Regions from separate parts of the Homo sapiens genome. Here region 2 is linked to region 1. The links are contacts of gene promoters, found by promoter capture Hi-C in blood cells and fetal thymus (Javierre and others, 2016). All regions are on one chromosome and are shown on one strand. The core of a region is centred on a gene start or on the middle of the fragment in contact, and the rest is flanking DNA. Distances in the headings are between cores, read along the strand shown.

The links. The method cuts DNA at HindIII sites, captures the fragments that hold promoters and counts their contacts. A CHiCAGO score of 5 or more calls a contact.
Region 2: a fragment that was not itself captured here is called in contact with the fragment with the promoter of TMEM242 in region 1 in 1 of 17 cell types (total B cells); the score reaches 5.1 in total B cells.

Annotation. Positions count from the first base shown.
Region 1 is chr6:157,322,074-157,328,436 of GRCh38, reverse strand. It overlaps TMEM242 (transmembrane protein 242), which reads left to right and starts at 4,918. Exons shown (of 4, transcript NM_018452.6): 1 at 4,918-5,025; 2 at 5,632-5,732. The coding sequence starts at 4,938. TMEM242-DT (TMEM242 divergent transcript) reads right to left here and starts at 4,803. Exons shown (of 1, transcript NR_187268.1): 1 at 3,960-4,803. It overlaps LOC105378076 (a long non-coding RNA gene), which reads right to left and starts at 2,206. Exons shown (of 3, transcript XR_943165.2): 1 at 1,518-2,206; 2 at 1-199. RefSeq lists enhancers at 4,206-4,635, 4,816-5,155. The HindIII fragment of the contact is 1,401 bases long and covers 4,559-5,959 here.
Region 2 is chr6:157,547,104-157,553,413 of GRCh38, reverse strand. All of the region lies in intron 2 of ZDHHC14 (zDHHC palmitoyltransferase 14), which reads right to left. Among named protein-coding and RNA genes, the nearest start is that of MIR3692, 21 kb to the right of the region's middle. RefSeq lists an enhancer at 371-1,193 and a silencer at 3,051-3,251. The HindIII fragment of the contact is 6,763 bases long and covers 1-6,102 here.

The sequences.
Region 1 (6,363 bases), core at 3,669-6,168:
TTGTACTAATGCCATTTCGAAGGAGCTGTAGCTCTGGGGATTCAGAGCAGATACTGGGAAGAATTCAAGAGGCTGAGAGCAGCAAACTGGAGGGTGCAGATACCACGTGGGCTCTCATGCCAGCCCAGAGCTTCTCCTTGTGACATAATGCATCTTGCTCTCATTCCCTTGCTTTCCAAGAATGTTATCGCTGGGTATCCTGCTGGAGAGTTTGATGAGTTACCCTGAAAACCTATATAATATTTCTATTTAAACCAAAATTCATCTTTTAAACAAGGCGATACATTTTTAAAGTATTTTATTGTTTTCCTTCCATTTTTTCCCTTCTCACAAAAGTAATACATGTCCCTTATTAAACATTTTGCAAACATTATAGAAATATGTAAAAATGTGGCTTTGGTCAGCATTTTACTTACTAAGGCAGAAAGTAGAAGAGATATAGATAGAACACTCACCTCCTCCCTCCTGTCAAAGTAACCTCTGTTAATAATTCAGTGTTGAGTCCAGATCTTTTCTTCTGTGCACACACTTAAGCTGGCAATAACTTTTAAAGATCTCTGATATATATATATATATATTGAGATACATATATATGTATCTCAAAAAAATTATATATATCTTTCAAAAAATTACATATCTATATGTATATATATGTTTTTTTTTTTTTTGAGATAGAGTCTTGCTCAGTCACCCAGGCTGGAGTGCAATGGCATGATCTCGGCTCACTGCAACCTCTGTCTCCCGGGTTCAAGCAATTCTCATGCCTCAGCCTCCTGAGTAGCTGGGATTACAGGTGCCTGCCACCACAGCCAGCTAATTTTTGTATTTTTAGTAGAGATGGGGTTTCACCATGTTGGTCAGGCTGGTCTCAAATTCCTGACCTCAGGTGATCTGCCTGCCTCAGCCTCCCAGAGTGCTGGGATTACAGGCATGAGCCACCACACATGGCCTATATTTTTGACAACTATCTTATATCAAGCAGCAGGAAGGATGATTTGACCCTTATCAGATTTTAAAAATAATTCAGCCTCATACATTAAACATGGAGAGATTGAAGCTCTGAAGAAATGTTTTAAAAAGTGACGGGGAAAAGAGTCCATCAGAGTTCAAAACAAGCTAGAGCTAGGGCCATCCAAATTCCAGGAACGGTAAAGCTAACAAGTTTCTAGCTGTCAACATTTGAAATAGAATCTACAGGAGCCAAAACGTTTGAAATAAGAATGTGGTCAAATGTGTCCCTGGTATGAACTTTCAGCTGACTAAAACAAATACCGAAATAGCAACAGCATCCGTCTCAGATAAACCTGCTTTCCCAGCAGCCTCCTTGGCTTGTAAGAGATTTCCATTACTTTTTCTAGAAGAGTACTGTGCTTCCATTGAAATATCAGTCCTGCTGGTGCTGCGTGAAGCAACAAAGCTCTGTGACTTTCTAATCTCTGGTTTCCACACTTGGAAATGCTTCCCTGCTCAAGTCCCCATCTTGCAAAGAAACTGTGCTTAGAATGTCTACAACTCACCTGTTTGGAGCTTGTGTCATATCTTCCTCTAGTAACAAGTCTAGGTGGAATTGTGGAATTCTTAGAGCAGTGCAATTAATCAAATTGTACCCAAAGTACCCAACTGGGTGTCCTGTAGAGATATGAGACCTTGGGAAACATTGTCTTTAAAAAATGCTTTCTTTCAGCATTCCAACTTGGGATGCCTGGAATTTGGTCTTATCCCAGGGCCAGGGACTTCCCGTCCCAGTGTGTGGCAGGCTTCTGAGGCTCTGGAAACACCATCTCCCAGGATCTGGCACCAAGCAAGTCACAGGGCAGGTGCTGGGGGCTAGTGAGAAATGGGGCTGTAGTAGTCTCCACAAACAGGCCTTGACCAAGGAGCTCGCACCTCCTCCTCTCCTTGGTATGTATCCCACAAAGATCCTCAAAATGCAAATTTTGAGGCTGAAGTGTAAACCATTGGTTTGTGTCAATTGCCTTTTCAGTCCTGTGTATATTGGGAAAACAAGCTTTCAAGTAGAAAAAAGGAAGATTGCCTTTTACTTTGGGGATTTAGAAAGAAGATAGAGGTTTGTGAGCTGCAACATCCAAAACAAAGCAGACACCAGTTTCCTAGGATGTGCAGTTACTTTCAATGGAGACCAGCTCTGGAATGCAGGACTCTGTAATTTCCCTAGATTACAAGATCTATTATCTCCCTTCTGTTCCTTATAGTAAGCAGTGATATAAACCTTAAATTATTATTATTATTATTATCATCATCATCATCATCATCTTGAGACGGAGTCTTGCTCTGTCACCCAGGCTGGAGTGCAGTGGCATGATCTTGGCTCACTGCAACCTCTGCCTCCTGGGTTGAAGCGATTCTCCTGCCTCAGCCTCCCAAGTAGCTGAAATTACAGGCGCCGCCACCACACCCAGCTAATTTTTATATTTTTAGTAGAGATGGGGTTTCGCCATGTTAGCCAGGCTGGTCTCAAACTCCTGACCTCAAGTGATCTGCCTGCCTCGACCTCCCAAAGCACTAGGATTACAGGTTTGAGCCACTGTGCCCAGCTTAATCCTTAAAATGTTTCTGTCGTTTTCTAAGGGGACAGCAAAGAAGAGAGTGGAGGAATCTGCACTTTTTCTCCCTAAGCAGTCTTGGGAAAACAGATTTCCAAGTGCTAAAGTGTATGGTGTGGATTTTAAGAGGTGTAATCCATAAGAGGAAGGCACACAGAAGATGTTCTCGAAGTGGAATCCGTGGCAACAGCATCACCTGGGAACTTAGACATACACGTTCTCAGCCCCCACTGAGTCACAGACTCTGGGAATGGGGCCCAGCAAGCTGAGTGCAATAAGCCTTCCAGGTGATTCCAATATTCAAGTTCACACTTGAGGACGACTGGCACAGTGGATAAGGAAGGACCTGCTTTTAAGCCCTGTCTCTGCCACTTAACAGCTGTGTGAGCTTGAGCAAGTTAGTCTTTCTGAGTTTATGGAGAGGAATAAATGAGATAATGTACTTGAAGCACTTAGTGCAATGTCAGATATATAGAAAGCACTCAATACATGTTAGCAGCTATGGTTACTGTTATGTATGAGGGGAAGGAAAAAGGATAGGTCCTTCAACAAATTAGCACAGCATTTACCAGCTTAAAAGCCCTTTCAGATACTGACGTGTTTCCAGGAAATCCAAAGGTCACATACATTCTGTGTGATCTCATCCACACAAAAATTTGAACAGAGCAGTAGTTTTTTATCATCAGAAACCCCACGGAGCTTTTACATTCTGCCCTGCCACCCGCGGGCCTTCAGAGCTCTAATCTCCCGTGGTAGATAGACCTTGATAATCCATCATTTTTAAAAATCCCCATAGGCAATGCTGCAAAATAGCTACTGGAATCAAAGGTGGTAATAGTTAGAGCTAACATGTATTGAATATTTATATGTGCCAGGCACTGTGCTAACTTCTTTATAGATGTTGCTTCATTTAATTCTCACAGTAATCCTATGAGTTAGGTACTATCAGTTTTTGTGTGTGGGGGGGGCGGGATGGGGTGGATGGCAGAGTTTCACTCTTGTCATCCAGGCTGGAGTGCAACGGCTCGATCTCGGCTCACTGCAACCTCTCCCTCCCAGGTTCAAGCCATTCTCCTGCCTCAGCCTCCCGAGTAGCTGGGATTACAGTCCCGCATCATTAGACTCCGCTAATTTTTGTATTTTTAGTAGAAACGGGGTTTCACCATGTTGGCCAGGCTGATCTCGAACTTCTGATCTCCACCTGCCTCAGCCTCCCAAAGTGCTGGGATTACAGGCGTGAACCACCGCGCCTGGCCTACTACCAGTTTTTAAATTTTACAGGTGAGGAAACTGAGCTATAGAGGGGCTAAGTTACCCCAAGTTCACACACCTGAGAAGCGGTTTAGGACCCGAGCCCAGGTTTGAGCTATTAACTGCACTTCACTGACGCAAAAATGGATGCATTCATTTACTCATTCATCCAACATGCATTTGATGTTGGTAACCAGTTAATATCTGAAAGCTGGGGGATATAAACTGAACATAGAGTCCCATCTCCATCCTCAGGAAACTCATGCCCTCCGGTGATGGGGGGCAGGACAAATAGCAGAGAGACCGCCTTATTTTACAAGATGTCATTGTTCTCTGAGAGGCTGAAAAGATTTTCTATCACCACTAGCCTCCTCCTCTCCACGGCCATTTACAGAATGGGCAAACCAGCCTCCCAGCGGAAGACCAAGCTTGCTAGCGGTCAACGTTGCCGGCAGCTCTGCAAGCGCTTCCAGCGGGCGTCGCTCTCCTTTCGGGGGTGGTACTTTCATTCGGTCATCCTGTGAGTGTTCCACTTCCCGACGGAGGCCGAGCACTCACACCGCGGCGGAGGTACCCGTCACCGCAGAACCGGGTGGCTGGCTCTCCTCCAGGGAGAAAGCCTGTCACTTATTCCTCAACACTGTTGGGAAGTTACCTAGAAAAGTACAGACAGAAGACCTAGGCTTGCGTTTTAGAATCGTGGAGTGTTAGCGCTGGCCAAATCGTTGGACACAATGTAAGCTTGATCAGGAAAATGAGCTCCAGGGTCTCACAGGCGGGGCCTGGAATCTTGGCGCAATCTGCGACCCTCACTGCCTCCTACAGTCGGGGCTGAGCGTTCTTTCAAACAGCCAAAGTAATCACTTAAGTCCAGCAATGATCTCCTTGGAGAAATCAAAAGATCCTCCCTAAGAGACGGCCTTGGAGGGCATCGCCCCTGGGGCTGGGCACAGCACGTCTTCCCGGCCCCGGCGCGGGAGGAGGGTTTGGGGACAGCGGCCGCACTCCGGACCCTTCTTCAGATTGCACAGGAGGAGGCGGTAGCGGAACCTTTCTCCTCCGCCTGGTTCTCGCTTCCACCCGGGCCCAGTTGGGGACGGACGCACTAGAGGCGACCTAAACATGGAGACAGCGGGCGCTGCAACTGGGCAGCCGGCCTCTGGGCTGGAGGCTCCGGGGTCCACGAATGACCGGCTTTTCCTGGTTAAAGGTAAGATGTGCTGTGGTGAGGTGCGGGCGTCGGGGTGAGTTAACCCCGGACCCTGGCTTGCTCTGGAGCGGGCATTCCCACACACATCCCGCTCTGAGAGCCCTTAGCTTGTGCTTGCCCCTGAGTTTAGCCCGCGGAGTCTGGCGGCCCAGGGAGGGTAGGTCGCTTACTGGGTGGAGTCTCCCCTTGGGCGGGGCGGGGGGCAGATCCCGCGAGCTATTCTCCCGGGCGTGCCATATTTCCCCGTCACCTCTGCAATTGTTCTAGAGCCTTGCCTTTTCTGATTGCCATCGTCTCTTCTCCTCCCCGTGAGAAACTTCACGCTGTGGTCCCAGGGGAGAGGGGAAGGGAAGCTGAACCTTTTCTCTGCGCTCGGGAATAATAATTCGGAATGACCCAAGGAACCAGAGGTCGTGCGGTCACGCGTGTTTCTCAGCCGCTGTCATTTACTGTTAGCAAGAGCTGCTTAGCCATGGTTTCTTGAATTTCAAAAGTGATTTTGATTGTAACTCGAATAGTATCTTAAACTTACTTTTGTACATCTTTTTAACCTCTTTTTATTTAATTTTTTTTAATATCCCCCCTCCTCCCCGAAACTCTTGGCAGGTGGAATTTTCCTTGGTACCGTTGCTGCAGCGGGAATGCTAGCTGGATTTATTACAACATTATCATTGGCTAAAAAGAAAAGCCCTGAATGGTTCAATAAGGTTGGTGACACTGAAATCCATTCATAGCATTGTTATTGTTTACAATATATGGCAGCTTTTGCGTAGAAAAAATAAAATATTGATGGTCTTTCACATTGCTTTAAGATGTGAATTTATATACGCTCATGGATTCTAGAAATGTACAAATTAACCAAGTCTTTATTTTCATTTAGAAGGATGTACTTATGTGCTTTCTTAAATTTTAGCGGAACAAGACTTTGAAAGCTTATCTGGTACATTTCCTATTCACAACATGACTTTGAATCTAAATTTGGGCCAGGCATCGTGGTTCATGCCTGTAATCCCAGCACTTTGGGAAGCCGAGAGGGGCAGATCACCTGAGGTCAGGAGTTTGAGACCAGCCTGGCCAACATGGCGAAAACCCATCTCTACTAAAAATACAAAAATGAGCCAGGTGTGGTGTGGCACTCCTGTAGTCCTAGCTACTCGGGAGGCTGAGGCAGGAGAATCACTTGAACCCAGGAGGCTGAGGTTGTAGTGAGCCCAGATAACACCACTGCACTTCAACCTGGGTGACAGAGCGAGACTCTGTCTCAAAAATAAATAAATAAATATTCACACAAATAACTGTGTAATTACAATTTGATGTGTGCTATGGAGGAAAAGTGTT
Region 2 (6,310 bases), core at 1,472-3,971, 230 kb before region 1:
AAGATCCCATCCTTGCCAAACTCTAGTCAGGCATCTCTGAGTGCTCTTCCCAGCGAGGCCCTGATTTGGGGGCTTCTATGTCTGTTTCTGCAATGCTCAATTTTAGCAAAAGTCCTGCTGAGTCGAGTTAGCCAGAACCCTCACCCTCAATATCTGATCCCCTTTGCTACTCAATGGGGCTCCTCATCCCCCACCATCCCCCAGGGAATCTCTGACCACCCTGGCCTGCCTTCGCCTGGAATCTGGTTAGGTTGGTTTAGCCAGAAGCCCCCTCAGCCCTGAGGCTTCCTTTTAGTAGTCTTCCATCCACTGCTCCCAACTCTGCTCCTTGGCTGTAAATTCCCACTGTTCCTTGCTGTATTTGGAGCGGAGCCCAATGCCTCTTCCCTACTGCAAACCCCACTGCACTGGTCCCTATGACCCTGCATGGTCTCCCTGAATACAGTCTGCCTTCATGTTTTAACAAATGTCCTGAATAATTTTAACAATGAGGTGTGAGAGGTAATCAGGGACAGTCTGAGTGTGTAGTTTGGCAGATGGCTCTAGGTTAGATCAGATTCCCAGTCACAACTCCAGCCACCAAAAACTTGCAGATGTGTATTATAAGGCAGGGTGTAGAAGGCTCCTGGGGCCGCTAGGAAACAAGCTGTCCCTGAGAGGCTCTGCAGGGAAGGCCTGGCTTCTGAGGCAGCAGCCTCTGCTCTCTAAGTCCCCTCCTGGGCTCAGCATGGCTGGGACTCTTTTCCATGCCGTTGCACCTGCTCAGTCTTCCCAGGTCAGTCTCCTCCCAAACAGGTCCCGCCACACCTCCTTGCCTTGGTCCATTTCCTCCGTCCTCATTGAGTCCTTTGCTTCCTTTTGTTCCTGAGCTGCCTTTCATGTTACCTCCACACTTGGAATAAAAATGCCTCCCACTTCCCAAGCACAAAGAGCTGCCCACTCCCCTGATTAACATCCTCCAGGGGGGTTTTTCTCCTGAAAAGCCCATCTGGCCTCCCCTCCTCCTCACGCCCAGCACATCCACTGCAGAGGGCTGTTCCAGAGATTATTGTGCCCAATGTGCCGCCTGCCCTGCCCTGCCGACTCTGCATGAAGGGTTTCATCTCTGGCTTCCTTCTAAAACCCAACTGACTGACTGACTCACTCCCTCACTCACTCAAAAGAGCTACCGTTCCATCATCTTGCTTTATCCTCCCAAATACGCCAGTTACACTACTAATGATAGTAATATTCCAGTGAGTCATTGAAATATCTTATTTTGCAGTACCTACAGTTTGCTTGTTGAATTTACATGGGTGTGCACGGAGCTTTGCATTTTAAAATTAACAGAAGACGTCATTTCTTCTGTTTAAGCAGTGGAACCGTCGAAATAATCCTCTAAAGTATTTAGGTTCCCAGATTTTCACAACCAAGCAAAGGAGAAAGAGGGATTTATTTCTAGAATCATGGAATGATAACGCTGGAATGGCTCTTTGCACTCAGTGGGTCTATTTTACAGACACTGAAACTAAGGCCCCAAGAAGTCAACACACTTCTCAAAGTCATAGACTAAGTTCATATGGCTATTTTAAATATGTAATAATAAGGAATAAGACGCTATTTATCTCACAGGCACTGCAGGGAGGGAGGTGATTAAACAGAACGCTCAAAGTAGAGGAACTTGTAGCTAGCAAAACTCCTGAAAATACGACAGTCCTGGGAGTTGCAGTGGAGAGGAAGCAGAGGCTATGCTGTAGAGGAAGGTCACAGGAGGGACGTGGAAAGGCCCCAGGGCTGTGCTTCTCACATTCAGGTGACTCACCTGTGGTCTTGTTGCAATGCAGATTCTGATTTACCAGGTGAGTCAGGGCCCAAGAGTCTGCATTTCTAATAACTCCCAGGCGATGCTGACATTACTCTTCCATGGGCCTCAGTTTGAGTAGCAAAGATTTAGATATTCTGTTTCAGGAGCCAGGAAGTTAAAGGAGGGCTATATATACCTGGACTTGGAACCAGACCCCATGCCAGGGTCCCAGGCCTGTCACTGATTGGCTCTGTTGTCAGTGGGTGGAGTTACACCTGTCTCTGAGCCTCAGTTTACTCATCTGTAAACCAAAGGAGTTGTCCAGGGTGACCTCCATGACTGCTGAGGTCCCTTTAAGCTGGAATGTCCCATGACTCAGAGCCCTGCAGTGGCCAGCACCCCAGGAGGAAGGGAGGGGACACGGAAAGCTGTTGTGAGAGATGGACAGACCCACAAGTCATCACCTCTCTTGATGCCCTTGGCTGGGTAGGGGTGGGCCTGGAATTTTCACTAACATGCTCCAGACCACTCTCTCCATGCTTTGACTGTATTCTTGAACCATGCATGTGGTCCCAAGTTTTCCATCCTCTTCATGCCACTTGGTCCTTTACTCCCCACTACACCACAACCTCTGTGTTCCTTGCCCTCAGGATGACCTTCTCCTCACCCTGGTTATGCCATCATCCTTCCCCTTCCATGGCCCTGTATATAAGAACTGATTATAATCACAGTATATTCTGTGTTTTAGCAGAGCATGTCAACATTGCTGTACGCCATCATCGTGCCAGCTCAACACAAACTCTAAAGAAAGTGACATTGGTGCAGTAAGAGAAAGATAGACTTCCCCTTACCTGAAAGGAAGTGGTATCCTGGCTTTAGGGAGGAGTTCATCAATTCTACAGAGGAGATTTCACATCTTTACACAGGTACACAAACTACACAAAGAGGGACATTCAGGAGGGGAAACACTGTGGTCGCTAGAATCCCTATGTGACACCATGGTCTCTCTAGAGTGTCTGTGTGACACCATGTTCTCTCTAGAGTGTCTGTGTGACACCGTGTTCTCTCTAGAGTGTCTGTGTGACACTGTGGTCTCTCTGGAGTGCCTGTGTGACGCTGTGGTCTCTCTAGAGTGCCTGTGTGACGCTGTGGTCTCTCTAGAGTGCCTGTGTGATGCCGTGGTCTCTCTAGAGCGTGTGTGTGACACTGTGGTCTCTCTAGAATGCCTGTGTGACACTGCAGTCTCTCTAGAATGTCTGTGTGACACTGTGGTCTCTCTAGAATGCCTGTGTGACGCTGTGGTCTCTCTAGAATGCCTGTGTGACACTGTGGTCTCTCTAGCGTGTCTTGTGATGCTGTGGTCTCTCTAGAGTGTCTGTGTGATGCTGCGGTCGCTAGCTAGAATGACTATGTGATGCTGTGGTCTCTCTAGAATGCCTATGTGAACTTAGGAATTCACACTCCTAGGCTCAGTGCAGGCTGAGCACCAAAGTGTGATCTCATCAAGTGAAATAACCCCCTTCTCTCAATTTCTCTTCCTGTAAGGAGGAAAATGCCACTTTCCACCCACAAAGCTCTCTAGAGGACCAAGAAGACAATTCTGTGAAGGACGTCCACCAGGAGACAGGAGCTACAAGACAGCTTTCTGGAGCTGTCCTCCTAAGTCCCCATGCCAATCAGTGTATAGTAATGTCGCCAACTTCAAAATCACGGAAATATGTTTGCATCAGACAATGGCTTCAATTCCAACACATGGTACATTCCCACAAGTTTGGATTTCCATAGGAAGAATAAATAACACTGGCTTCCTTGAATGTCCTGGATGAAAACCACACATCCTTCCAAATCCTGTGGAAAAACATCTCTGGCTCCCTCCTTCCCTTAGAATCAGACCCTTCAAAATCTTGTGGTATTTCCCCAAATACCATAATTTTGAGTTGTGACATCTGGTTTCCAGTTCTCCCAGGCTGGGGTTTCTTGTTAAAGGGACATCGGAATCTCGACATCCCGAGCTGCCACCCTGACCTTGTGCAGGAGTCTCACTGCCCCACTTCCTGGCATCCATGCACTCTAGATGGTTCTGGCACTTCCCCCAGACAAGGAAGCTACATTTTTTTCTAGGATGTACCTTTTTAGAAGCCTTTGTCTCTTCCAGAAGGTATGTCCGGCACGATGGGACTCCCCCACTCTCCCTTGCCTCAAACATCACGGAACATCTAGACATCAGTGAGCGTCCCACTAGAAAAAGGCCCCTGAATCTTCAAGAAGCTCCAAGAGGGGAGTTAGATTGTCTGGAAATTCCCCGAAGTTCTTCCTGCTACACCCACTGGAGCCCAGGATTTGAGAACCAAGCCCGCCGGCCGCGGCATACTAGGCTCGGCTTTCTGTTTCGAAGCTCGAGGCTGTACCGGGGAGAGAGGATGTGGTCCATGGGAAGGGGAAGTGCCACTGCTCCAGGGAGCCAAGCATGGCTTCCTCAGGGCCTGGCTCCTCAGGCAGCAGGAGGTGGGCAGCACTGTGCAGCGGGTAAGAGCACACGCTGTGATATCAGATAGGCAGGTGTTGGACTCCCAGCTCTGGCCAAGTGACCTCTGGCAAACCCCTTTCCTCCCAAGCACTGGCATCCTCACAGGTATAACAGGATACAGATGGTGGGCAAATGCCGCGGCCACATCCTACACGGGGAGAGACGCTTCATCAACAACAGCCATGAACACTGTCTGGCCTGTTCATCAGGGCCCAGCAGACCCATCACACAGACACATGGTAAAAGCACGAGGAATATTTCATTTCATGGTCACAGGTAAGTGCTTAAGCTGGTAGTGAAGGAGGAAGCCCAAAGGCTACTGAGGCGGCATCACAGTGACGGTCAAGAACAGGCCAGAGGCTGGCTGCAGTGGCTCAAGCCTGTAATCCCAGCACTTTGGGAGGCCCAGGCGGGCAGATCATCTGAGGCTGGGAGTTCGAGACCAGCCTGACCAACACAGAGAAACCCCATCTTTACTAAAAATACAAAATTAGCCGGGAATAGTGGCGCATGCCTGTAATCCCAGCTACTCGGGAGGCTGAGGCAGGAGAATTGCTTGAACCCGGGAGGCAGAGGTTGCGGTGAGCTGAGATCGCGCCATTGCACTCCAGCCTGGGCAACAGGAGCAAAATTCAGTCTCAAAACAAACAAACAAACAAACAAACAACAACAACAACAACAAAAACAAGAACAGGGCGGAAAGCAGCACGGAGGGAGGATGGGAGAGGCAGCAAGGACCCCCACACCGGCAGGTGCAATCCATTCTGCATGGACCTCCATGGCCTAGTCAGAGTGCGTGAGAGGCTGAAAGGGCCACTGCAAATAAAAACGACACAAAGCATGAATTGTGGTGATATTGGAGGTGAGTAAAAAGATGCAAATATGAATTGGGGGAAATGTTCAGAAAATCTCACCTTCTGAAAAGAAAACTGGCAAAAAGCAATCAAATTAGCCACCTTTAATGCCTGCTATGTTGACCCTGCCAGATTTTTTTTTTTTGGGGAGGGGTGTATATTCAACAGTATGGACAACTAGTATACAGTACACAAAGCGACTGCGCAGTGTATGAAGATTCAATCACAGATCAACCACAGCCAGTAGACTACTCATTAGGCAAAAATCAATGAAACCAAATCAATGAAACCATCAAATTTTAAAGCCATTTTATGGTGAATATTGACAACAGAAAATGAAATTAATACTGCCTTAAAAAAACCCAACAAAAAGACCCCCAAAATTGCATATGGTAAAAAATCAAATCACAAAAAAAATTTTTCTTAGTAGAAATAATAGTTCTATAAAAAATTCATAATGGCAGCTTTCATAATACTGATTGGTGAAAAATCTTAGTTATAAATTTTATGCAGAGAAGAAATGACTCCAATAAAAAGAATTTTAGTGAAATAACAATCTAAATGAAAACAATTGGAAATAATTTGTGCGATAGAGAAAATTATGGTCTTAAATTGACTTAGTCTTTTCCTCAGAAAGCATCTTCTCCAACAAAAATCCATTAGTGTTGTTAAAATTCCAATTAAAATGTTTCTACTCTTAAATACAGAATTAAGATATCTTTGATGCGGGAAAAGCCCAGCAAGTCAAATCAGTGGGTCAAAACTTCCTGTGGTTGTGGAAGTCTTCCCAGGGGATGCTCTGTCTAGGATGGGGTGGAACTGTGTCCCTGACAAATCCAGGCTTTCCTAGGGTCAGGAAGTTGCTGTGCTGTGCTTTCTAGAAATTTCCTCGAGAGACTCTTTCAAGGATTAATTTAGGAAATAACAAAAGATAAGCTTTACTCTTAGTAAAGTGATTGGTTCTGCGTACTACAAGAAAGTTTATTGGGTGATGACCGAAGATAGGGGAGAAGGAGGGAGAGGGAGTAGAGGAGGAAGGAGAGAAGGAACACACACACACGTGCACGTGCGTGCACACACGGGTGCATCTACTCTGCCTGGGGAAGTGGCATTCTACCTCGTCAGCAACATGTACAGAGTGGAGGT